Linked DNA regions of Homo sapiens: all the other regions are linked to region 4. The links are contacts of gene promoters, found by promoter capture Hi-C in blood cells and fetal thymus (Javierre and others, 2016). All regions are on one chromosome and are shown on one strand. Each heading gives the region's core, a stretch centred on a gene start or on the middle of the fragment in contact. The rest is flanking DNA. Distances are from core to core; before and after follow the strand shown.

What was found. Contacts are between HindIII fragments. The CHiCAGO score rates a contact against its expected background, and 5 or more counts as called.
Region 1: a fragment that was not itself captured here is called in contact with the fragment with the promoter of ETAA1 in region 4 in 1 of 17 cell types (M1 macrophages); the score reaches 5.2 in M1 macrophages.
Region 2: the fragment with the promoter of FBXO48 here is called in contact with the fragment with the promoter of ETAA1 in region 4 in 1 of 17 cell types (fetal thymus); the score reaches 5.8 in fetal thymus.
Region 3: a contact is called between a fragment that was not itself captured here and the fragment with the promoter of ETAA1 in region 4, in 1 of 17 cell types (M0 macrophages). The highest score is 5.2, in M0 macrophages.

Annotation. Positions count from the first base shown.
Region 1 is chr2:65,613,172-65,619,268 of GRCh38, forward strand. No RefSeq gene overlaps it. Among named protein-coding and RNA genes, the nearest start is that of LINC03050, 14 kb to the left of the region's middle. The HindIII fragment of the contact is 1,954 bases long and covers 1,197-3,150 here.
Region 2 is chr2:68,462,660-68,469,392 of GRCh38, forward strand. FBXO48 (F-box protein 48) reads right to left here and starts at 4,635. Exons shown (of 4, transcript NM_001024680.3): 1 at 4,552-4,635; 2 at 3,485-3,811; 3 at 2,181-2,519; 4 at 1-1,711. The coding sequence starts at 2,486. The coding sequence ends at 1,550. It overlaps APLF (aprataxin and PNKP like factor), which reads left to right and starts at 4,926. Exons shown (of 10, transcript NM_173545.3): 1 at 4,926-5,168. The coding sequence starts at 5,073. RefSeq lists enhancers at 3,716-3,775, 3,869-4,764, 4,765-5,659 and a silencer at 5,001-5,210. The HindIII fragment of the contact is 4,492 bases long and covers 1,405-5,896 here.
Region 3 is chr2:65,659,175-65,666,219 of GRCh38, forward strand. No RefSeq gene overlaps it. Among named protein-coding and RNA genes, the nearest start is that of LINC03050, 60 kb to the left of the region's middle. RefSeq lists an enhancer at 3,256-4,455. The HindIII fragment of the contact is 2,206 bases long and covers 2,275-4,480 here.
Region 4 is chr2:67,393,040-67,399,930 of GRCh38, forward strand. ETAA1 (ETAA1 activator of ATR kinase) reads left to right here and starts at 4,294. Exons shown (of 6, transcript NM_019002.4): 1 at 4,294-4,632; 2 at 6,130-6,258; 3 at 6,511-6,587. The coding sequence starts at 4,410. The HindIII fragment of the contact is 4,361 bases long and covers 1,538-5,898 here.

The DNA of each region.
Region 1 (6,097 bases), core at 924-3,423, 1.8 Mb before region 4:
CACACACACACAAACGCGTGTGCACACAAGGTCTGTGCAAGGCAGACCTCTTGCTTATGGAAGTTAACCTTCATGTGCCTCCAAATGGAGCTGGATGAGAGGAGCTTCAGATGATCATGGAGCTGCCCAGGGGAATCTGAGAGTCACGTTTGAAGCACCAAAGGAGAAAATGACTTGGTAGATTGTGCATTTTCCACTGGGTGTTTGGAACTTGGGGGAGACCTTGGGAGGACCATCAGGCTGGCTCTGGTCTTCCCCAACCTAGAGAACAGACAGCAGGCTGTAGGGAAACTGGCAAGAATGAGGCCGCAGAGCCCAAGGCACGGAAACTTATCTGTGCATCTTAGTACCTGTCAGATTTTCATATGGTTGGAATTGTTCTTGAACTTAATGGGGTTCTTGGTTGAACTCCAGTGAGATAACAGTTGTAGGTGGGAACCTGAATATATTTACTGCTCTCTTCAGGGGAAAGAACTAGCTTTTTGCAAAATTATGATGTCCTGTGCCCATAGTCTCTGGGTTCTGGTGTCCTGCATTTTTCAGGGATGCTCTTTCCCGAGACCCAGTGCTTCCTAAGATCCTCATGCTCTCCCCTCCCCAAACTGGCTCTCAGAATAGCATAGGCTCAACTCTTTTAGACTGATGTTTAAGAGGAAGAGAAGGAAGAGAAGTGGACTTGGAACAAAGATTGTGTTTCCCATTAGAATCTGGGGCCTACCTCTTAAGAGCGGCCATTGAACAATTTGCAGATACTCTTAAATCCTCAATTTTGGCATAAAGAAAACAACACCAGCTCAAATGAGATAATGGATGTGACAGAGCTTTGTAAATTCTCAGCTCCTATTCAAATGTGAGTTTATTATTACAATCACTTTAATAAGGGATGGCAAATAGTGTTCTACTCAGATCCTAGCTTTGCTCAGTGGGTTGTAGCTGCTTGCAGTGTTGTGCTGAGAAAGATTCTGAGATTCTTTCACAAGGAAGTGCGGAGATTGACTAGTGATGTCTGTCATGGGCACCAGAAGCCTGGAGGGGTCCTATCCAGTGTCAAGTGTTGGCACTTCGAGATCCATTTGCTTTTTAAGAGTGATAGAGAGTATGAAAAAAGGAGATAAATCTTTAAAGTAAAATTTTAGATATCAGTGTGTGGCAAAGGCATTGTTTTGAGGAAGTGAGCCTCTTAATGCCCAGAATCAAGCTTGTGTATAGTTCTGACTCTGTCATTGGAAGACAGTTCTAATGTTATTTCCCAAGGCTGTTTCCCTGGTTGTCTGGTTACGGAGGTGCTAATAATTGGGACATGTGTTTCTTTTTCCCTTTCTGTTGTCCCATTAATCACACTGTCTCTTTCATACATTTTGACCTTTGATAAGATTCAGCTTATCACTTGGCTCATTGTTGTTCTCTGTTGATCGCAACATGTACGGATTCTATATGTACAAATGTTTTAGCCATAGGTACAGATTCATCTGTGAAACTGTAAATTGCTTGAGGAAAGCAGTTATGTCCCACATTTTCTCTGCCCTTGATTCCTAGTCTAGTGTAGGACATATAATAATTTGCTAAGCAAATTCTGAATTGCTCAGTAAATTATTTTTCTGATTATATATTAATTTTGGAAAACTTGAAAAAATATAAATGAGTAAATAAAAAAAGATGTTAAAACATTAGTACTAGAATTAATTACCATGAACATTTTGGTAAGTTTCCTGCCAGCATTTTATTACATGTACATATTTACATATAAATTTTAAAATAATTTAGAGCATACTTTATAATTACATGATCTGGATTTTCCTTTTATGCTACATTATAAGTACTTCTCTGGATCTTTAAAAGAGTCTTGGCAAATATTAAAATACTTGAATTTTAATTTTAAAACTTCAACTATTTTTTATTAGTTTGTGATTTCAACAGTAACGCATGCCATTGTAAAAAAAAAAAAAGTTGAAGATATGAAAAGTAAATATCCTCTCTCCTCTTCTCTCCTTTTTTTCACTCAGTTGATGTAACTCCTTTTTAGCAATTTCTTATATTTCTATTCAGACATTAGTTTTGCATGTACAGGCACAGAAAACGTGGGTTCATATTATTCATACAGTTTTGCGACATTTTTGCACGTATTATATCTTGGACATCTTTTATGTTACTACATACAAATCCACCTTATTCTTTTAAACTACTGCTAGGTATTCCATTCTAGGAAAATCTCATCTTTAACCAAACTTCTATTGATAGCTATTTAAGTGATTTCCCTTTTTTATATATATTTTTTGAGACAGGTTCTCACTTTATTGCCCAGGCTGGAGAGCAATGGTGTACTCACAGCTCACTGCAGTCTCAACTTCCTGGGCTCAAGTGATCCTTCCGCCTCAGCCTCCTGAGCAGCTGGGACTATAGGCTCATGCCTGGCTAATTAAAAAAAAAATCTATATATCTATATATATTTGTAGAGACAGGGCTTCACTATTCTGCCCAGGCTGGTTTCAAGCTCCTGGCCTTAAGCAATACTTCCTTGGCCCCACAATGTGTTGAGATTATAGGCATAAACCACATGCCCAGGCCTTTTTTTTTTCCTCTTATAAACAATGCTGCATCAGGCATCTCTGTGCATATATTTCTGTGCGCATCTTTGCACATATGTTTTAGTGTACAAGTGTTTATGTAGGATGAATGCCCGAAATGGAAATTCTGGGCTAAAGGGAGGGTTCACATGTAAAGTATTAAAAGATATGGACAAGTTGCTCTCCAAAAATGTTTATGCATTTACATTCTCATCAGCTATGCATAGTCTTTCTGGTTTCCCATACTCTTATCAATAATGGGGACAAAAAATGAAAAACCACACACATAAAACCAAACAAACAATAATCTCACTGTTTTTAAATTTACATGTCATTCATTATAAGTGAGTCTGTGCATTTATTCACACATTTAGCCACTCGTATTTTTTATTCTATAAACTGCAGTTCACATACTTTGTATATTTTTGTATCATGTTATTTATAAGTTTCTAATTGATACATTTTATGTCTTTAGATATTAAGAAAATTATTTGTTGTATGTGATAGAAGTAGTTCCACAATTTTTTTTTGTCTTTCTCTGACTGTTATGGTGTTTTTACAGCAGTTAAAAATGTTTATGTATTCAAGCTTGTTAGTTTTTTTCTCAATTATTTTATTTCATGTTAAGAAGAGTCTAATTTATTCCAAGATAATTTAGACCATTCCCCTGTCTTTCCTTTACCGGTTTAAAAAATGTTATTATTTTCATGTTATAAGAGCATGTTATTTTCATGTTTAAATTAAACAAAAATGTAATATAGGGTACTGGCATAAACTTTTCCCCAAACATTTAGCTAGTTATCTTACACCATTTGTTGAATAATCTATATTTTCTCTTGTGATCTGAAGTGCTACCTTTATCATATACTAAATTCTTATATATGACTTGGCTTCCTTTGAACCTTCTACTCTTTCTAGTCCTACATTTGTTCCTTATTGTTTAAATTATTATAGTTTTAACATATTTTATAACAGTGAGGTCTAGACTATACTTGTTAATCTTCTTTTTAAAACACATTTCTTGGCTATTTTCACATGGCCTATTTTCCCAGATGACCGTGGAATCATTTTGTTAAATTTGTACTTTCCCAACAAAACAAACAAAACTGTTTTTGAGATTTTGATTGGGATTATGTTGAATTTATAGACTAAGATGGAGAGAATTACCATCTTTACACTACTGAGACTTCCTACCCAAGAATACAGTTTTTATTTCATTTTATTCATATCTTATTTTGTGTTTCTCAGTAAGCATAACTTTTAAAGGCTTTACAATACTTTGCCTATGGATTTACCATAATTTACATGATTCTTCCCTTATTGCTGAATCAGTTCCCATCTCTTTCTACATTAAACAATGTGACAGGGAGCATTAGTATGCTTTGCTCTTTGAACATGTTTTGCCAATTTCCTTAGAATACATTTCCAGTGGATCAAAGGATCTAGGCATTTTAAAGGCTTTTGGTAGCTATTGAGAGATGGCTTTTTAGAGAGGCTCAAATAATTGACCCTCCTACTGGTAGTGTCAGAGTACTTGTCTGGCTGAAGTCTCACCAGCATTTTGAGTATTAGTATTAATAGTATCTTTGCTAAGTTGGTGTGAATGAGTTAAGTGGTGGGTGGGACACAGCATTGGATGGCTGCCTCTGCCTATCTGTGAATAGATTTTTAGAAATGTTCTCCTTTGCTACATGCTTTTCTCTACAGTATAGTCAGGGGGCAGTTTTCACTCTTCACTAAGATTAGCTTTGAGCCAACTTTGAAGACATTTACTTTAGTAACTTCTTATGTTTTTTGGAAATTTCATTTGTCCACTGATATCTAGGAATGAAGGGTAAATTTTGAGAGGCGGATTTCCATTTTGTTGTGATAGACTTATCTAAGAGTAGTCAAGACAGATGAGACCCCCCACCCCCATCTGCCCCAACACACATACACACAAGTGGCTGAGACTCTGCAAATTTCAGCTGAGCAACTTGGGGTTGACTTGGGCCAAGGTTGAGAGAAGGTGTTCAAATTTCATGCTCCAAATAGGTCTCTGGAACAGAAGAGTTCTTCTTGCTTTCCAACTGCAAATGTCATTTGGATTTCCCAAGCTTAGGACCCAGAAGTGTTCTTTTGTGAGAAGCAAATGCCAAATTTACTAGGACGGCCTTAGATGGACAACCAGACAATCATACTGGTAATGCCTCTTTGCTTTGGGGTTACTATCGCTCCTGTTTACTTTGGCAGGCTTTGAGCATGGGAATCAGACATTTAAAATGCTCTCCTTTCCATCCAAAAACCCTCTTTGCTGCCACCACCTTGCTGTAGAACCCCCTCCATCAAGATTTTTTGGTGGGGTGGGTCATGCTTTTACAGGGCTGTTTCTTTCGGGGTAAGCCTATTAGGCTTCTAGGATGTTTTAATTGGGGCAGTGTAATTGTAGGGTGCCACAAAGGCCCTGGCAAGGGGTACTTTATAAATCAGATTATTATGCTTAGTTGTGTTAATGGACATTTATATGCCCTAAATCCTTCATATAGCAATGAGATAATAGCCCTTAAGGCCATAGTTACTATTTTGGGTAGCGCTTACTTGTAAAACTGGATCATTTTATTGTGAAGCTGTTTTCAGTTAGAGAGTATGTAAAACCCTTTGAAAGACAGAATTTCAATTTTGTGGTTGCTGTCTTCTATAGCTTAAATGGTAAAATCATTATACACACACACATATATATATATATGAAAGCTTTGAACCAGTTAACATTGTGCTCCTGAAGCAGGACTTCTTAATAATGGGGAACTGCAAAACCTTAGAGGAATTTGACCAAATGTCCAACCTTTCTCCTGACCAGTAATAATGTTAACTTTTGGGAGACAGATTCTGGTTTTGTTTTGTTTGTTTCTCAGTGGTTGCAGGGGCCCAGGGAAGGTTAGGAAGCTGTGTTCTAGTGATAGTCAGTGATACAGAGGACAGAGGACACAGGTTATGTGGCTACAATGGAGAGTCTGAATGCACTGGTTGCATTGACAAGGATTTTCAAGTGCATTTTCATTCCTAGGCTTGAGACTGATGGACAGAGCACCCAACTGGCTTGACAGGAAGTCCCCTGTCCTCTGGGAGCCTGGCTACTTTGTTTGGAGGTTCATAGTAAGCAAATTGGACAGATTGTGGGTAGCTCGCTGTGCTACTTTGTGAGGTGTAGATATGGCTGGAATTAGATAAGACTGAACATTGTATGACACAGGGGCATGGATCGTTTCCACGACAGAGAGGATCCAATGCAGTGGGGACATCCCAAATTGACTGCAAATGCCTTCCCTGCCCCTGCCATTGGCTCACTTTTCCCAGATCCTTTTCCCTTTATTTACAGCTAAAGGGCTTCCTAAGTTTCAAGAGCACACACCTGCTTGGTTCCTAGGATGGCGACTGGGACTATTTGGAAGAAGCTACTCTGAGGGTGGAAACTTTGTCCCAGACACCCCAGAGGACCAAATAATCAGATTATGGGAAAAATTCTCACATTCCTACTAGGTACTTTTGAAACTCCC
Region 2 (6,733 bases), core at 3,385-5,884, 1.1 Mb after region 4:
TTTCTTTTGTTAAGAGTAAATGGGCAGAAGAGAATGTTGTTGGGTCTAGAAATTATACTCTATGATCATCAGTGGAATTGGAGAGAAGACATAGGAAGAGACAGGCTATCAGTCTTCAAATATCTGGCAATCATAGACAGGAAGGACTGAATCAGCCTGGTTCTAGAGGGTGGAAGTGGGGCTAGAAGGCAAACGTTACAGAGAGGTGGTCTTCAGTGCAAGCCTAGACTACAACTGGACTGTTCTGTGACATAACAGAGATGCTATTAGTAGAAGTACAGGATTTCAGCTTGGGCTGGCTGACTGACAGTGTTCCTATTGAGAAAATTACTGAATAGTCCTGGACACTTGACTGCCTGATTTTCAAGGACTCTTCCAACTCTAAGAAGATAGTAGGAGACAATTAATTATCTACTGCTTGATTCAACATACAGAATTTGCATATAGTGGGGCATCTTTCTAATATTTGCCTATTTGTTAAATATTGGTTTCCTGGATTCTTATATTTAATGCTATAGAGAACAGTTTTTAAGAAGAAAACCCCACACTAACTAAAGCAGTTTGTAGACACTTTTTTACTATGGTGGTAACCACAGATTCAGAATAAACAATTTGTTATAGTGAGTAGCATATAATCTGTTTTTATGAAAAAAGAGAAACAAAAGTTTTTAAAAGTTAAAATAAAGGTTCCTAAAAAGTTATAAACTTTAACAAAGACAAGTGTTAAGGATTCTTTAGAATAACAGTTTTCTTTTTAATATGGAGAAAACAAAAAGGAGCTGAAAGTCCTTTGTCTTGCTATCTAAGAATAGCACACTAGATGGTGCTATAAGGCTGTCAGAAAGAGAGTTTTACCAGGCTAGTGTGGCATTCTGATGGTAAAGTGTTCTGGAAACTTTCCACTTACTTTCAGCTCCTGAGAGCCGTTCCAGGTTTATATAAAATTAATGGGAATCTCAATTGGACAAACTTTAGCCCTGAGATGACATTAACTTAAAACTAAACCACAGGCTTAACACATTAAAAATAGTTTCACTATTTGACATTTCAATCTGATTCCACTGAAATAGAAATGTTAAAGTCATTAAAATGTCAATGTATTAATTTAAATGTATTGCTATTAATTTCACTTAGCTAGTCTTCCCATGAGCCTAGTTATAACCACCACTTAATGAATCTTTAAGTCAGTTTAAAGTGGCTTCCTGAAATTTTGAATTATCATTAAGCTGAACATACAAATCACTCTTACATTTAGTATTGCAAATATATTAACACAAATACATGAAACATTGTATTTGGAAATCACTCTATCAGTATATTATTTCTTATAAAAATAACATTTCATGATTTTTCCACATTACAATAAAACCAGAAAAATTTTACTAAAGTGCAAAACAAAAATAAAGCTTTACTTTTATAATAGTTCCATTTCATTTTCTTTTAAAAAGGTGAACAACAAAATGAACGAATAAAGATATCGCTTTTGCAACCTAAGAGTCATTTAAGTTTTAAACTTTCAAAGACCTGAGATTTGTGATTTTTTTTCCCCTTATCTTTCCAGTTCTGCTTCTAGAATTTCCCCCCATGTATCTGCATCCATTGGGTACATGATTTTTTCTGGTAGGCTAATGGGAGAACAAATGTTGCTGTATCTGCCACTTAGCCATTCGTGTTTCACTTTACTCTTCTGGTAATTCCTCAGCAGTATCACCTGAAAGAGGTAAATCACCGTTAAAAAAGACTGTAGTAGGTGGTTGGTTAGTGAATGTGTTTAAAGCAAGAGAAGCAGATTGACAGGGCTGAAAAAAAGAGTATTTACATTTATATATACGTACATTAATAAATGTATGTGTCTGTGTACGTGTGTGTATGTATATGTGTATTTATACTGAGTGGCATAAGGTGAAGTGGAAAGAAGGAGCTAATTCCCTTCTGGTTAACGCAGGAAAATTCCCGAATTTAGAATTTTAAAAATGCAAAAGGATAAATGAAAGATAGTGTGGAAACAGTGTGGTTAGCAGGAAAAGACTAATAACTTTAACTCATTTCCAAGAGTCAACACACTGTCTGTGTTATTCTGCATATGTAATTCTGACTCCTCCAAGCAGAAGTTAGAATTGGCGCAAACCTGCTATCATAACGCTGTCAACAACACTGCAGATCGCAAAGATTAAACTTACCCTCCAGGAATAACCACTTTCTAGATCATCATCTATTTCTCTTCGGCACACAGCTCTTACAGTCATGCAGTGAGGTTTCCATAAAGAGTCACTGTTTCTTATTGTGTCATTCCAGCTCCTGCATGTCAATGAAGCCCTGCACAGACTCCGAATGTCCAGCTGACTGAAAATTTTAAAAGTGATTTCTGCAGGCAGCAGTTCAAAAAAGTTGTTTTGACTCTCATTTTTTTCCTTCTCAGCATCCACAGAGTTCGCTTCTGTGTGAGAAACTCTTAAATTATTGTTTCTCTTGGAGTTTTTATGCATAGCTTAATGTTTTAAGTTATCCTCATATGTAACCTAAAAGGCAAAATTTAAACATGCTCAGTCTCCAAATAGGAGTATAAATCCTACTTTAAGTCAGATGCTTTTTGGGTATAATTTAAGAACTCTTTCTTGACTTTAGCTTCTCAATCTGTAAAATGGGCCAATGCTGCCGCTCTCCTGAAAGTTCTTGCAAGGATTAACAGTGATAGTGGGTAAAATATCTAGTCTTGCTACATCTGAATTGCACATGGGAGGCACCCAACATGTTAGTTTCACTCTCACCCAGGCTGGAGTGCAGATGTGTCATAATAGCTCACTGCAGCCTCAAACTCCAGCCTCAAGCGATTCTCTTGACTCAGCGTACCCCGCCCCTCTTTAAAAAAAAAAAAAAGAAAAAAAAAAAAACAGAAAACCAAAAACTGTTTTACGGAGAAATGGTTCTTGCTATGTTGTCCAGGCTGGTCTTGAACTCTTGTCCTCAAGCAATCCTTCTGCCTCAGCCTCCCAGAGTGCTGGGATGACAGGTATGAGCCACCATACCCGGTACTTTTGTACCTTTGAAAATGTATATGAGTCAATCCTATTAAACTCCTGAATACTTGTTGTACATGGGAACTGATGCCTCATCATTAATTTGCAATTTGTGACTTAATCATAAACTTGCTGGACTTCTAGTTGTTTATATAAGAATTTTATCTACTTGTATCTTATAGGTAGGTAGGTGCTTACATTTGACACAACTACTATCTGAAATGGACAAGAAGATGAGATCTGGATTATGAAACAAAGTCTCAAATATTCAACTCAGTCATAAGAGTAGTGTTTTAGAAATGGCCCCTTGAAGCTATCCTACATGCATAATTACAAGCTAAGGATAATAGTCACTGAAGACATCAAGCAACAGTGAGTGACAACTGTAAACAATGTTTAGAACTCAGCTAGGTACAGTATGTGACTCTTTGAAGCCCAGATTTAAAGCTCAGTTTCAGCTAATTTACCTAAGGTGAATGGTGTAGGCTTCCCAAATCAGTTGAAAGCATGACTGGGTACATCACCATCCTTGAGTTACTTTTGTATATAAAGACAGCTTGTATTCACTTAAAATCAGTTTATTCCATTTTGCACTTCCTTTTATAACGGGGGTTGGTTGTGCAAGAGGAGAGGTTTGAGGTAAATACTTCTTTTAACTCAGCTGAACACAAATCTCTTTTCTAGACGAGCTACTCAGCTATGTTTTCGGACTTGCCAAGACCACGGTGGCTCCCATTCATGATCCAGATTAGCTGTGGTGGCTGGAACTGCAGTCTGTGTTCAACAGAGGTCTTCTTCTTGAGGGTTAGGAGAAGTAAGAAAGCAAACGTAAAAACGGGTGAGTCAAGAGCAAGTTTTTGCCATGCACCTTGGCCCCTCCCACCACCAATACAAACCAAAGCCAAACCACAACGTTCTTGAAAAGAATCTCACATTAGGAAAACGTTACAGTGCATTTAAACGTTACAGTGTGTTTATCCACTTCTCCCAGGATCTTACTGGGAGAATAAAATGCGTCCCCTTGTGGAATTCCTGTAACGGGAATGAAGGCTTTTGAATTTCACAGCAGGGGATACCTTTGCGAGTTTCTAAAATCCCACTAGGAATCTTTCTTCTACGTCCAGGTTCGCCTGGATGCCTGGAAACGACCCCTCTTCTGCCCTTTCTCCTTTATGAACTGAGCTTTCCTGAATTCTCTCTCAAGTGAAGTAAAAGCTCGTCCCCCTTTCAACTATCATTCGGAGGGATAGATCGGCGGCAGCGCAGTCGGAGGGGCGGGGAGCCCCACTCCGTCCAAATCCCGCGGGTCAGGGCTAATCACCCCACGTCCCGTCTGAGCCACCCTCCTTGTGTCCCGCGCGGGTTGCAGCTGCTGGAACCCAAGAACACAGGGCACTGACAAGTGACAACAACCGTCAGCGTTGACTGTCACTGCGGCTCCAGGCCGCGGAGGGAAGGCTGAGCTTGCGTCCAGGCCGCGTCCCCGGGAGCGTAGACACCTAAGCCAACGGGAACGGAAGACCCTTCTACCTACTAGGCCGCGGTAGCTTCTCCTCCCGCGATTTAAATCCACCGGAATTCGAATCCTTCCCCATAGCTCTTCGCATCCCGCCCACCTGAGTCCCGCCCTGCTCAGAACTCGCGCAGGCGCCGAGAGGGGCGCGCAGTGCCTTTGGGGATTGGTAGTTTTTTCCAGGGCGTCTCCGCTCGGGAAAGGAAGTGAAGAAAGCCACCAGGACTACAAGGCCCGGCGTCCTCCAAGATGGGAGGGAGGTGAAAAGGGTGTTGGGGAATAAGCCGGGGTTTTTAAACAGTAGTTTTGAGGCGGCGAGACTGGGGAATCCCCGGTTGCGTCATTAGTAGGCGTGGAGGGGCGGGACTCGTGAAGCTGCGCTGGGGCCGGGCTCTGAGAGGACCGGCGCAGCCGCGGGGAGCCTTTGAGGCCCTCCCTCGGTGTTTTTTCCCAGGGCGTGGGCTTGCCCCGCGCGTGTCTGTGGAGGGCGGAAACAGCGGAGGGGCCAGTCTCCTGGCGAAGGGGCCTAATCCTTGCCCGCCATGTCCGGGGGCTTCGAGCTGCAGCCGCGGGACGGCGGTCCCCGGGTGGCCCTGGCGCCCGGGGAGACGGTGATCGGCCGCGGGCCGCTGCTGGGAGTAAGTGTGGGCGGGGGCTTAGCGGACCCCGAGAGCCGTGGAGTTCCGCGCCGGCTCCTGAAGACCGGCCCTAGTCCTGGCCGGTTTCCCCACCGCACTGGTCCGCCGGTCCGGATTTTAGAAGTTTGGGGCCGCACGTTTTTCAGTTACCTTTAAGCCAATTCACAAACATTTCTTTATGTTGCTTTTAAAACACTGACTGTATTACCATTATTATCTTATCCAGGGATTGGCAAACTAGTGCCTGGGGGCCAAATCCAGCCTATGTTTGTATGGCCCCATGAACTAAGAATGATTCTTAAATTCTGAAATGTAAAATGTAAACAAAAAATCTACTAATTTTTCAGGGGGAATAGTTGCTCCAAGGGTTGAGGGTATTGCGGCTTGTCTTGTAAAGCCTAAAATATTTACAGTAGTGTCTGGTCCTTTACAGAAAAGTTTGCCAAACTGTGATATTACGTCTTCTAGGCTAATTTCTTTTAACCTTTGGTCTCCTTTGCAGAGCTGTGTGGACCTTATTTATTTATATTATTTATTATTTCCAGTAAAATGAGTAGCTAACCCTTCATAAGTAATGTGTATAGCGTTCGTGTCATTGGTCTAAGGAGACATTACCTATACCAACATCTTTAACTGTCTCAAGACCGTATCAGTTAGCTATTTTTATTATCCTCATTGTTCAGATGAGAAAATTGAGCCATACATACATTATTTAAAGTCCATACATAAGCTTTTGGACACATAATGCCACAAAGCTAAATATTCTCTACCTTCTTTGGGAGAGGTTTAGGAATAAGAACATTTGCATATTGCATTCTGGAATTCTATAGATCTCTTAAGTACATCTAGTTTTCTATTTTGTTCTTTAACATTCAACATTTCTTGTTTGGTGCTCACTGTGTAGAACATTTTGCAGATTCTAGCACTGTGGGGCATACAAAGATGAATGGAACATGGGTCCCTACCCTTTAGGAGTTTTCTCTTGGGACCGGGGAGACACCTGTGTCAGTGAGCTAACACCAAGGAGTAAGGAGTGTGTACTGTTGTCCTGGTTAACTTCCAGAGTCTAAATGGAACCATTGGTACTTGCCTTAGGTCCCTTCTGGGAGCAGGGAAAGGAGTGGTAGTTTAAGATTGTATTATGGAAGCTGGTCCTAAAGGGGTGTGTGTGTGTGTGTGTGTGTGTGTGTGTGTTGTGTGTTGTGTGTTGTGTACATGCACATGTGCATGTGGTAAGGTTATTGAGGAAGTAGATATTCAATTGCTGTTCATTTTTTTACTGGACAAGTGATTATTTAAATATTTAACATCATTTCTATTTTTTTCATCGTTTGTTGGCCTATACAAACACTGGAAGGAACTGTCTGGAGGCTTTATTTTTCTTTTAAATTCGTAGGTTTGAAACTTAAGAGTATGTGCTTAATCTAGTAATCATATGTCTGGTGACTAACGAGTTTTGACTTGCTTAAGAAATTGTCACCAGTAGAGTACTGTGGGTCTGGTTAAAAGGTGGATGAATTTTAGGGCCGTGGTTTAGAAACATGGCAACAGATTGCAGACCGTTT
Region 3 (7,045 bases), core at 2,128-4,627, 1.7 Mb before region 4:
GAGGTTGCGAGTGGCCTTTAAATACCCAGTATGGGGTTGATGTCCCTTTCTTGTGATCCCCAGACACAGTTTGCTCTTGAGAGGACTGATGGCCTGGGATATGTTATTGATGGTCCTGAAAGGGATCTGCGTTTGAATAGGTCAGAGAAGATGTTCTGGAAGTCTGGAGACTGGGATACGCTCCCTTCCCTACAGGTTCGAGAGGGCTCTGAGGAGCAGTTATAGACATGTAATGAGGATCCAGGCTCCAGATCTGTTCTGTGGGAGAAAAAAGTGAGGAAAGTGAGTTTCTGGATAAATCATGGTGATCCTTGAATTTGAAGTTGTCCCCAAAGTTTATCCTCCTCATCAGAGCATATGATCATAGCTTCTGTTTTTTCTGTATTTTCCTTTTCTTCCCCTGCCTTGTTTCCCTCCCCACCTCACCACCCACCCCCTCTGCAGCCTCCCTGCCTCCCTCCCGCAAACACATTTTTTTTCCCAGCCAAGTGCTTGTTGAGGGCTGTGTGGGGGAACTAGCTCCCCACAAGACAGAGGAACATGTGAAAACAGGACCCTGATGAAGCTGGACTCAGGGCCACCCACTGCCAACATTTTCTAGGTGAACAAGAGTGAATTACAAATGCAGGCTGGAGGCCGGGCGCGGTGGCTCACGCCTGTAATCCCAGCACTTTGGGAGGCCGAGGCGGGCGGATCACGAGGTCAGGAGATCGAGACCATCCCGGCTAAAAACGGTGAAACCCCGTCTCTACTAAAAATACAAAAAAAATTAGCCGGGCGTAGTGGCGGGCGCCTGTGGTCCCAGCTACTTGGGAGGCTGAGGCAGGAGAATGGCGTGAACCCGGGAGGCGGAGCTTGCAGTGAGCCGAGATCCCGCCACTGCACTCCAGCCTGGGCGACAGAGCGAGACTCCGTCTCAAAAAAAAAAAAAGAAAAAGAAAAAGACAAATGCAGGCTGGACCTCGGTGCTCGGAGCCACACCAGCAAGAATTGCCTGTGTTGAGGACAGCGAGGGGGACACACACACACACACACACACACACAGAGAGAGAGAGAGAGAGAGAGAAACCTGCCTCCCAGGGAAGACTGTGAATCTCAATGGTGTTTCCCTGTACATGGTTTCAGCATTTAAAACATCCTGCAAATGAGGCTTTTCCTGATCTGCACGAGTGGGCTCTCCCCTCCTCCTGCATCTGACATCCCTGCCACCACCCACTGATTGGGTTGAATGATTTGATGGGGCATTCATCAGGAGGTTTGGGTGTCCCCGATGAGTAAATACACTTGCTGTTATGAGCCCCATACATAAAAGGGAAAGTATCACATTTTTCTCTGAATTCTTGAGGAAATTGCTCTCATATACAACACCAACCTTTGGCTGCGTGACAGAGATGGAGTGTTGTTTGCATGCCATTATCAGGCTGTAAAGTCTGGTCAGGGCTGCCTTTTCGGAGTTTCCAATCTTTTGGGATCCTGGGAGGGTCACCCTGCGGGTCAGGTTTGTTTAGTCTGGTCCGTAATGGTGTAAAGTGGCCTTGACTGTTGAGCCTCCCTAAATAATGCCCTATCTGTTTGATACTTCAACAGTCCCTCGGAGTTGTATATATGTTTCACTTTCTAATATTCGAAGCTGAATTGGATTTCATTGTTAATAGATGGGAAATTGTTTCTAAAAACAACCTCATCTTGCTTTGAAAGTTAGCCAGAGTTCAGAGGGCCCCTGCATTTTAACGGGTGATCTATGTTTTCTCTGGGAAAATCATAGAGCACTTCTGTGTTTTTGTATGCATGTTACTCACTCTGCAGCTTTTTAAAGGGATTCATCTGAACATATGCCACTTTAAAAAGCTTTTTATTAAAATATAATGTACATATAGATAAGACAGCACATATAATAAGCATACAGTGAATTTTAATGAACTCAATACATTGTAGCAACTGGCCCCAGATTAAGAAATAGAACATCATCAGCACCCCAAAAGCCCCCTCATGCCTCTCTATGGGAACATATACTATTTTAAATTTCTCTTATTTATAATTTATTCAAGGTTTTCTGTATTGCACCTTATTCTGTTTTTCTCAATGGTGTAACATTCCCTGAATCATCATATACAAATAAGGGAAAAGAACTTGTCTGATCTGCTGGGTCATAATAAACAGTACCTATCTAGAATCCTTCAATATGGCATTGTAATGTCCTATGGAGCTTTGTAAATTCATCAATATCTTGCCAAAATGGAGTTCATTTTTATAAGAATCCCTCTAGGTGCTCAAAGCTTGCTTCTTTATCTATTAGACACAAGAAAAGCCTGGTTTCACAGATGAGTCTAAATAGCATTGGTCTACCTAGCTCACATCCTAGTTTTGTGAAATACTATCTTTATTTAATTTAATTTATTTTATTTTTTTGAGACAAGGTCTCACTCTGTCACCCATGCTGGAGTAGAGCGGCACGATCTTGGCTCACTGCAGGCTCCACCTCCCGGGTTTAAGCAATTCTTCTGCCTCAGCCTCCTGAGTATCTGGGACTACAGGCGTGCACCACCACGCTCAGCTAATTTTTGTATTTTTAATGGATATGGGGTTTGGCCATGTTGGCCAGGCTGGTTTCAAATTCCTGACCTCAAGTGATCTGCCTGCCTTGGCCTCCCAAAGTGCTGGGATTACAGGCATGAGCCGCTGTGCCCAGCCCTTGTTTTGTGAAATACTATCAAACCCACTTTATGAATGTTAAGTAATTAAGTCCTTCGGGGTAGAGAAAATAGTGGTGGAAGAAAGTTATTCATTGCAAACATTTTTGCTCAGAGGCTTTTGGAAGTAAATAGGTTCTCCTCCCCAGTCCAGCTATATTTCAAAAGGAATCTTGTTCGAAGCCCTATAATTGGACTTCTCCCCTCCTTTTTAAAAGTAGTTCAATTTCTTTCTTCCCAAGCTCCTCAGCTCCCAGAGCAGCTTTCATTACGGCAACATAAATAAAAAGTGACATAAAATTATACAGCCCTGTGTAAAGTAGTTTAAGGAAAATGTCTTTTATGGCAGCTTTTATGGTTTCACCAATTAGTTATTAGATTTTCTCCATTTTTAATTCGCTGTCCTGCATGTGCGTTCTGAAAGGTTTCTTCCCCCTTTCATCTCTTAGTAGTAACAGGGCTGGGGGGCGTTGAGCCCCTGTTTAGCTGACTTTCTTGTTTCATGAAGGCTTTCATGACAGCCTGTTGCTAGATGTGGGCAGAGCAAGTCCCTTGGGAGAGAAGCCAGCATTGAGCCATTCTGTGAAGTGAGCAGAGTTTCACCCTCTTCCTGTATGAACACTCAGTGTCCTGTGTCCCGCTGAGGGTAGCGGCAGGCTGGCTGCAGGATCCCGTCACAGCAGGTGGACCTTAAGCTGATAAATCCTGAATTTTTAGTAACTTTCCAAACATTCCTGGGGAGTGAGAATAACAGAGATTTACTCCTGCCAAAATTTAATCATGCAGAAAAAGCAAAATTTAGAACAGCGTATAGATTATTTTTTAATGCGACTGCTTGACAGCGGAGAACAAGGAAGTTGAATACTTGGTGCAGCCGAGTCTAGACCGCTGCAATTTGATTCATTTAGGGGAATTGTATTAGGTTTTCATTTTGGCTTGGGCTGGGCTGTATCTGTTTGGAAGTGCATGATGTCATCGTATCAAGCGTGTCACAGCCAAGGCATTCTGGTATTTATGTTGACTTCAGATCTAGCCCAGAGTACATGGGAGGCTCAATTTATTGCTACTTTAACTTTGTTTAGTCATGGAGAGGCTTTATTTATGTTGGTAAATTTCAAACAGTGGCCAAAATTAACCGCACAATGAAAAGGCCTGCCAGATTCATCATCGATAAATCATCTTGTTGCTGAGTTTCTTTAATTAAGGAAAAACTCCGTCTGTGGATCCCTGTGGTTGCTGGAAGGAAAGGAGGGTGGGGAGTACTTTGATTAATCCATCTATCAGCCTGGCTTTGGAAAGTGAGTCTCCTGTTTTTGATTGTAGCTGGGCAAAGACCTAAATAAAAATTTATCTTGTCAAAACCTATGGGCTAACTGAAAGCAAATAAAGAAATTTTATGGCATCCACATAAAGTTAAATAAATAACGAGAAAGCGTAGTACGTCCTACAGACATTTTTCAGTACAGTACGTGGCTCTGTTCTTTGGGGAGAACTCATTAACTTAAAAAAAATTACCTTTAATGGGCCACTCGTTATCGTCATCATCAAATGCTTCGCTTGTCTAATGTTCCAGTGTTTAATGCCTGATTAAAACTGAAGATGGGGGCTCATGGCTTGGTGCTGTTGGAACTACCCAGGATAGAATGCATGGCAAGTGGGGCTTCTAAAGGGTAAAATATGGACGTTGCAAACAGCACTGCCAGTATCGGGGAGAACTTTTTAAATGGATCCCTCTGGAAGGTAACTGACCTTCCTGCAACATAATGTTGCAGGGGAGGGCAACAGGGTGAAGCTTTTCGTGTCTGAATGAACAAGGGACTTCATCTCTGGTTGAACTTATCTTTCATGTGGGGGCTTCTCTCTGCTGGAAAAAGTCTAGAAAAATATATTGGGATTGAAAACCTCTTTTCATCAAATGTGGTTTAAGCAGACTTCTCTCTGGGTTCGGTCTCATGGTGGAATGCATTTTATTTCTAGGTTAAAAAAAAGTCCTTGAATCAGACAAAAGACAACAGGTAGTGATGGAGAAGGCCCATTCTCATACTAGCACGTGCTTCACAGTATTTGCTTTTTCTTTGTAGGTTATGGAAAGGAGGCTCTCTTGATACCAAGCTTCAGGATCCACCCACAGGAAAAGGTGATTTCTCAAGTGTCGAGTCTTGGCGTACGATGCATTAGGCAATCAGCCCCTGCCTGTTTGATGGAGTTGTACAATAAACATGGGCTTGGGGGAATCAAGAACATTTCGAGAAGCATCTCTGGTGGAATCCTGATGCTGGAGGCCTCTACTTTGGGATGTGACATTTTTGGGTTGGCTGACTAAAGCTGTTCCTGGAGGTCAGCTGGTGGTTTTGCAAGTTCTTGGCTTTTTCCTGCATTCTGTCATTGTGCCTTGACTTTTTTAGTGGGGCGGGATTCCCCATGACTGAGGATGGTGGTTGTGGTGATGGTGTGAACAGTGAGACTGCCCTCTACCTCAGGTTAGGAGATGTGGGAATGAGACAGAGATGGAGGGGTATGTTCTGGCTTAATCAACTGGATCAGCTTCACTAAACTGGGTAGGTTTCAAGCATTCCTAGACACCAAAGCCTACTCCTTAAATCTGCAATGCAATGTTGGTGATTTTAGCCTTCTGGAAGACCTTTCCTTAGGTTAATGAGACAACAATTTGCTTAAATGTGGGACAATTTCAATATAGAAGTCATAATCTGGGCCATGGAATTTGGTCATAGGTTGATAGAAGATTTCTAGCCACTTCATAATAATAACTATATCTTATGCATTTTTTAATCTTCTTCATTAGTTCCAAGATATAGTTTAAGGCTCTCTTGGAGTCACCTTAGTTTGCCTTTAGTGCATCAGAAAGGACACTTTGATTTATCCCAGCATGGAGGTCAGAGGTTAACAACAGGACAACAAGCATATACTAAGCTCTTGCCATGGGTGTAGCAAGTGCGGTGCAGTGTGCAGACTCCATAGAATCCTGTCATGGCCTTTGCCCAGAAGAGGCTTCTGATTTTGCAGAGGTAGGATTTATATAACTGTTAGATTGAAAGTGAGGACTTCTGCAGATGCAGTTGTAAAATGTTGTCATCCTTTCCTTCTAAGCCTGGGCTGTGGGGTTAGCTCTCCATTCCCTGGGTCAGATCTAGAGAAAGTTCCATCACTTTTCTGGCTACTCCAGGATCTTTTGTTTGCAAAAATGTTTGTAATTCAATATTATCACAGTGGTTTTCAACCCAGGTGGCCCATCAGAATTGCCCGGGCAGCTCTTAAAAAATATTGATGCCTAGGCTACCGCCAAGACCAGTGAAATAAGAATCTTTGGTGATTGGAAAAAAAAATCTTTGAGGATGAAGCCCAGACATCAGTATTTTTAAAGCTTCCCAGGAATTCCAGATGGATAGACAGGGTTGAGAACCACAGAAATGGAATGTGCAATTCCAGATAAATCATGAAAAATTCCAATTCTATTTAAAATGAAAACCTCTCCTGTTCTCTTTCTCTTGCCTACAATTCTGAGTTAGGGAGAAAGACTTGGGAAGCCTTGACTTCTCACCTGACCTTACAAGTGTTTTCCTCCTAGCCAGCTTGCTCACCGATGTTGCCGACTGCTCTGAGGTTGGGGTGGGTAGGAAGGGAGGACAGGTAATGGCTGGGAGGGTCTCATGTGACTGGCATCAATGCCACCTGACATGGCTTCTTCTGGCTGTGGGAGAAGTTTGAAGTTGATTTGCTTTGGGGACAGAAGTAAAAATTTGTATATTCTTCGGAGATTGCCTTTCATCTCTGGGAGTCTCTTATCTGCAGTTTCTTTGGTTTTCCAGTAATCTGACTCACACAGAGAGACTCTGCTGTGTCCCAGTGGCCCCCAGGAGGCCATCTTAGACAAAGTCCCTTAAGAGGGTGCCAGGCTGGCTCTCCCTCAGTCATGCAGGCCCTCCTCTCCTCTCTCTGCTTTCAGCCCTGCTACCCACCCTTTCCCTTTAGGCTCATTCATCCAGCGTTCTGGCAGTACCCTCTGGTACCGCACAGACTTCAGGGGACCTTGAACAAGCTCCATTTTGTCTCCTGGAAGCTCATTCCACCAGGTTTGAGGTGAGGGGAAATACCACTTTGGCAGAAACACTAGTTGTCCCCCAATTTTTTTTTCCATTTTTTTTCCTACAGTGATAGAGTGAGTTTCATCTGCAAACGTGGCTTTTCAGAATAAAGACAACATTTCTCAGTTTCCCTTACAGCTACCCACCATGAGACTAAACCCATTGTCATGGTACTAAATTCTGATCAATGGCATATTGGGTACATGCAGTGTAGGCAACTTCCAGGAAATATCTTTAAAAGGAGGTGGCATG
Region 4 (6,891 bases), core at 3,044-5,543:
GTTGCTTGTTCAGATTCTGCCAAATGCACTCTCACAGATTTGGAGCTGGAGCTCTGTATATAAAACACAAACATAATTCACATAATTATGGATTTTTTTTTCTTGAAAGGAAGACTGCTCACAGTTAGCCATTGATCAGTAGCATTGACCCATCGTTGTAATGTAAGTGAGGAGGCAATCACTGGCAGAGAAGCTCCTTAGTAACTCAGACCTTCAGTGTCACAATTTTTGCCTTAATAATTATTGTCAAGTTTATAAATAATCCCTGTAAGTGAAACAAGCAAGAGTTTCACTTTGGTTTATTACAGTTTTTAGTTGCAGTAAACCTTACTTATATGTATAAATTATTCAAATGCCTAGAAATGCTGAGCTATGAATCATATTGCATTCAAACATCTGTAAGACTTTTGTTTCACATTAAAAACATTTTATTAAGGAGTTAATTGTGTTATACTTATTTCAGGAGCTATAGTCAGGAAGTAAATTTAATTTGAAGTACACTTAGAAATGTAACAGATTATGTAAAGTAAGTAATTTTCAAGTTAAAATTTACTATAATTTCCTACCCCATAATGATTACAGGTTACAGCCATCCTAGGTGTGTTAAGACAACACGTCTGTACTTTAGGCTCAAGTTGTTCATTTCAGCAATGGTTACTTGGGCACTATAGAATTTGGAGTTATGGTAAAGTATTCACTGTTATTTTATTTGCAGCATTAATATGCTTTAAAGGATTACTACATGGTTATTTCTCTTATAAACATCACTAAATTCTTTAAACTTCCTTAATTACTTTCTAAATGTGAGTTGGATATTTATTTGGTAAATTAAGTTCTTTTTACATTTTTTTTAATGCTTCTAGGATTTTTGGTCATTTGAGAGGTAGGAGAGATCTCTGAGAGAAATAGTAATATTCCTGCTAATTTATACAAGTGAAGGTTCAAGTAATTAATTTGAATTTTAAAAGATGTAATATCACTTGTATTCCAGTCTTATCCGGTTATAAATAAATAAAACTAAACAATGGTTTAAATACATGTAGGTAAAAAACAATCATGGAAAGAAAAAGTATTAGTAGAAGGTCAAACACTGAGGAAAAATAATGGAATTATCTATTCACAACGGTTTATATGGTTTATATAACTGCTAGCCCTGAATCTCAAATTTAGTTCTAGGATTTCTGTCAGCAAAATTAAAGAGTAAAAACAGAATAGTTTACAAGATAGAAGAAATATATCAGCTCCTCAGTAGGAACTAAGATCTTTGCCTTACATTAACATTTTAAACATTTTAATTGATAAATATAACATGTGTGTAGAAAATGAACAAAATGTACAGCTCAGTAGATTACCACAAAGCAAATACTTTTGTAATTAACAACTAGAACATGAAAATAAACAAAGCCAATAAATACATGAAATTCTCTCCTCCCTCTGTCCACTTCTAATCACTGTCCCTTCCCCCTCCCGAAGGTAACTATTATCCTGACCTTTATGGTAATCATTCCTAGATTTTTCTTTATCATTTTAACACTAAAGCTTACATCCCTATACAATATAGTAGAACTTTGCCTGATGGAATTTATATGGGATTTATTTAACATTATGGAGGAGGGTTGGGAGGTCTAGCTTTTTTTTGCTCAACTTTATGTTTGTCAGATTTATCCATGTTGTCGCACAGAGTTGTAGTTTTCATTTTCATTGCTATTTTGTTGTGTGAATATAGTTCAATATATTTATCATTCTACTGTTGGAAAGCATTTGGTCCACTTACAGTATGAAGTAATTTTGAATTGAATTTTACTGCTAAAAGCATTTTTCTTCTTCTTTGTTTTTTCTTTTTTTTTTCTGTTGCCCAGGCTGGAATGCAGTGGCACAATCATGACTCACAGCAAGTCAACTTCTGGGCTCAAGTGATTCTCCTTCCTAGTAGCTGGGACTACAGCCATGCGCCAAAATGCCCAGCTAATTTTTTGTATTTTTTGTAGAGATGGGTTTTCGCCATGTTGCCCAGGCTGGTCTCAAACTCCTGGGCTCAAGCAGTCCACCTGCCTCGGCTTCTCAAAGTGCTAGGATTACAGGCATAAGCCACTGCATCCCACCAAAGCATTTTTATAAACTGTATCTTGATGAACAAGTCCATGCATTTAAACAGAGAATATTCCTCAGAGTGGGATTGCTAGATCAAAAACTGGTTTCCAAAGTGGTTGTGCCAAATTATACTCTCACCAGCAGTACGTGACAGCTTCCATTGGTTTACTGCCTCAATACCTATATTGTCAGTCTTTTTAACTTTAGCCATTCTGATATGGTTTTCATTTGCATTTTCCTGATTAAAAATGAATCTGATTTTTCCATAAGTTTGTTGATAATATTTTCTCTTGTGAAGATCCTGCTCAAGGGTCTCATCCACTTTTGGTTTTGACAGTCAATCATTTCCTTAGTGATTTGTATCAGTTCTTCATATAACCTATATATAGGCCCTTAAATATGTCTTATAAATATTTTCTCCCAATTTGTGCCTTGCCCTTCCTTCTCTTTAATGTTGTTTTTGAATGGACAGAAGTTCTCAAATTATCAATTTTGTGTAGTCACATTTATAATTATGCCTGGTGACCTTTGTTTTATTTCAAATGCGTTCTGTCATGAAGACAATTTATACCTTCTAAAATGTTATTTTATCTTCTACAATTAAATTTATAATGAATATATATGCACCTGATTTGGGGATAAAGTTTGAGGTAAAGGTCATGTTTCTTTCTTTTTCTACATGAACATCAAATAGACCAAGCACTATTTAATTTCAAAAGTCCTTTTACCATTGCTCAGAAGGGTCACCTTTGTCTTAAATCGTGTTCATTTATATGGAAGTCTGTTTCTGTGCTATCCTGTTTCTTTCATCTTTGTCTATCCTGACACCATCATAACACTGTCTTAATTACCATATAAGTCTTGATACCTGGTAGATATCAACCCTCATTATTCTTCGAGAGATCTTCAAGAGTTTATTGATATTTTTGGTCCCTTGCATTTTCATATAAATTTTAGAAAAAACTTACCATGTTACACACACACAGTCACACACTGGGCCTTCATATGTATTTATGTTGAATCTATAGGTCAGTTTGGAAATAGCTGACATTGTAACAATATTGAGTCTCACAACCCATGAACATAGTGTAACCATTTATTTAGGTCTTCGTTTTCTTTCAAAAAAAAAATTTTTTTTTTTTTTGAGACGGAGTCTTGCTCTGTTGCCCAGGCTGGAGTGCAGTGGCGCAATCTCGGCTCACTGCAACCTCCACCTCCCAGGTTCAAGCAATTCTCTGCCTCAGCTCCCAAGTAGCTGGGATTACAGGCACCCGCCACCACGCCTGGCTAATTTTTGTATGTATGTATGTATGTATGTATTTACTTATTTTACACGAAGTCCCCCTCTGTCGCCCAGGCTGGAATGCAGATGCGCGATCTCTGCTCACTGCAAGTGCAGTGGCGCAATCTCGGCTCATTGCAACCTCCGCCTCCCAGGTTCAAGCAATTCTCCTGCCTTGGCCTCCCCAGTAGCCGGGACTACAGGCACGCACCACCATGCCCGGCTAATTTTTTGTATTTTTAGTAGAGACGGGGTTTCACCATGCTGGTCAGGCTGGTCTTGAACTCCTGACCTCGTGATCCGCCTGCCTCGGCCTCCCAAAGTGCTGAGATTACAGGCTTGAGCCATGGCGCCCGGCCTCAAAAATGTTTTATAGTTCTCTTTGTAGGAAGGACAATCTTTAACTTATTCCTAGTTACTTGCTATCTCATGCACTATTATAAATAGTATCTCTTTAAAACTTCAATTTTATATCTGTTGCTAATCTATTGAAACACATTGATCTTTGAATATTGACTTTGTATCCAGCAACTCTTAAATTAATTTAGTAATTTTTTCTACTTTCTTTTGGATTTTTCTATGCACATAGCATCTATGAAAAATTAACTGTATTTCCTCTTCTTGAGAAATTCGAAGACTCTCAATAATCTGAATTTGACTAACGTGCAATTTTCGTTGTAAATTCAATAAAAAGTTGCTAGTGTATTCAATCTTTCCAACTCACAAGCTCCCACTCTCAGTTTACGCGGACCTGACTACTACCCGAACAACCCCCACCAGTCTGGAGGATTTTGAGCCTAGACACTCCTCCAGAGCAGGCTCCTGTCCCGGCTGCGGAAGTGCGCGCGCCCTCGGCACCTTAACAGTTCCGCCCCTCTCCCGGACCCAGCCAATCAGCGGCCGCCTCTTGCGCGCGCCCCACCGACCAAAATGGCGGCTGCCGTTGGTGCGGGGTGCGGTTTGTAGTGCTGTTGCCCTACTCATCCCTTTGCAAAATGTGAAAGAAGAAGCGGCTGGTGGAGGCGGGCCATAGGCAATGAGTCGGCGAAGGAAACATGATGACAGCCCTAGCCCGAAGAAAACGCCGCACAAAACAGTGGCGGCGGAGGAATGCGGCTCGGTGGTCGAGCCAGGGAGGAGGCGGCTGAGATCGGCCCGCGGTTCGTGGCCCTGCGGGGCTAGAGAGGGGCCTCCCGGGCCAGTGCGGCAGCGAGAGCAGCCTCCGACCGCCGCCCTGTGCAGTAAAAGTAACCCCGAGGGTGAGACGTCGGCAGCGCGGCCTGCCTTGGCTTCGGCGCCGCATCCCCACATCCCAGCTTGCAACAGGGAAATCTGGGGTGGGGGTGGAGTCTGGAGCGTGTATTCTGTCTCTGGGATTCACCCCTCGAGAGTCCAAAAATAATCCTATACCACTCCCCGATGGGCTTTTGTCCCCGAACTTCAGCACTACCCCGTTAGGTTTGACCATCCATTTGCCTCCGCCACAGGAATAGGTAATGTGGTTTACCTGTTTGCGGGAGGGCGGCTGCTTTCCAGGCTGCTCCTCCAGTCAGCAGCAGTGGTGGAGTGAGAAGAAACAGCTGATAGGCCCGCTAACCTCAGTTTTTGCCCGGAGAAGTTATTTCTCTTTAAACCCTTTTTTTCCCTGTGACCTGCTTTAGAGAAGAGTTCATAGGAAAAGTTAAAGTTTGTCTCAAAGCCTGGTAGATGTCTCACCTCATTGTGAATAAACCGGAAGTTCCTGTGTGTAACATCCCTCCAAATAAGATACTAAGGATCTCTTTCGTCTCGATTAGTTTTAGGTGTTACTTTTTAAAAGACTTCTAGTAAATCTTAGTTGGAACTGAAACTCATACAAAAGCCTTTATTCTGGAGCATGTTCTTGAAATAGTGCTTTTTTTTTTTTTTTTTTTTTTATACCTTACGTGTCTTTTTTCTTTTGGGAAAGAATCTCGCCCTGTCGCCCAGGCTGCAGTGCAGTAGCACAATCTCGGCTCACTGCAACCTCCGCCTCCCGGGTTCAAGCGATTCTCCTGCCTCAGCCTCCCAAGTAGCTGGGACTACAGGCGTGTGCCACCTCGCCCGGCTAATTTTTTGTATTTTTGGTAGAGACAGGGGTTTCACCGTGTTAGCCAGGATGGTCTCGATTTCCTGACCTCGTGATCCACCCGCCTCGGCCTCCCAAAGTGCTGGGATTACAGCCACCGCGCCCGGCCACCTTACATGTCTTTAATAATACTCCTATAAAGCAATTTGGGAATGAACAAAAATCTTTATAAAAATTTGAAAGTGATTCTAGACAAAAATTCCCAAGCATTGGATCACTAATGGTTTTTGAAGAATGGCAATTAATGTAGATTAGATAGAGTTGGTGAAAGGGGGCTAAACATATTTAGGTTTCTGTTGGGTTACTTTGGATTTTTGAATGTACCTATAAATTACAGATGGTTCCCCAAAGCCTCCAAGACTCAATGGTAATAAATAGAATGACTTAGGTTATACAGTATTGTATTATGCATTCATAAAGCTTCTGGATTATCTAGAAGTGTTTGCTATTTACAATGTGAAGTTTGCGAAGTGCCGCGTGGATTTTTATGTGAAACAAGCATTTCTGTTACGGTTCAGGTAATTATCTCTGGGAAAAAAAATTATCTTGGACTATAAAAGTTAGTCTCAGCTATTTGACCTTGGGGTCTTACGAAGTAAGGTAATGCTTTAAAATGCAACAATTGTTATTTTACTCATATTTTATATAGAAAGGTATGAAACACCAAAGAGAGCGCTGAAAATGGACTCACTGTCATCTTCCTTCAGTTCTCCTAATGATCCAGATGGACAGAATGATATCTTTTGGGATCAGAATTCTCCATTGACAAAGCAGTTAGGTAATTAATTATTAACATTTTTTATGTGAGTAAATATTTGATAAATGATTCAGATTTAACTAGAATTCTAGTCAGATAATAGCATCGGGAACCTCTGAGAATGTTATATGATTTTATCTGTATAAGTATGTGATGTAAACACATAATCCTCTAAGCTGCACTAAATAAAATTACTTTCTAAGAAGTGACAGCTGTTTTTTAAAATGGAGGGTTTTTTGTTTAAAATTTATAGAAATGTCTTTGTTTCTTTAGGTAAAGGAAGAAAAAAACAGATTTACACCACAGATAGTGATGAGATTTCACATATTGTTAATCGTATTGCTCCTCAGGTAAATATCACTAGTTTTACAGTTTGTTTTAAAACAGTGAAGAATGTGCCACTAAGTTTTTGTAGTTTCTTTAAATGAAAAGTATTGTCTATTATAATTCTTTTTTCCAAAAATAAGGCAGCAAAGATTACTGTTTTGCCTTTTCTACTTTTGAAATACATATTTTGAAAAAAGGAATATAATATAAAATACAAGATATTTTCTTAAGTATATATCTTGTTTTAATTTTTTAGAGTAATTTTTGACTAGGGCATTGTGTTTATCTGTAATGTTGTGCTTAACAACATACGACATCATTTTTCAA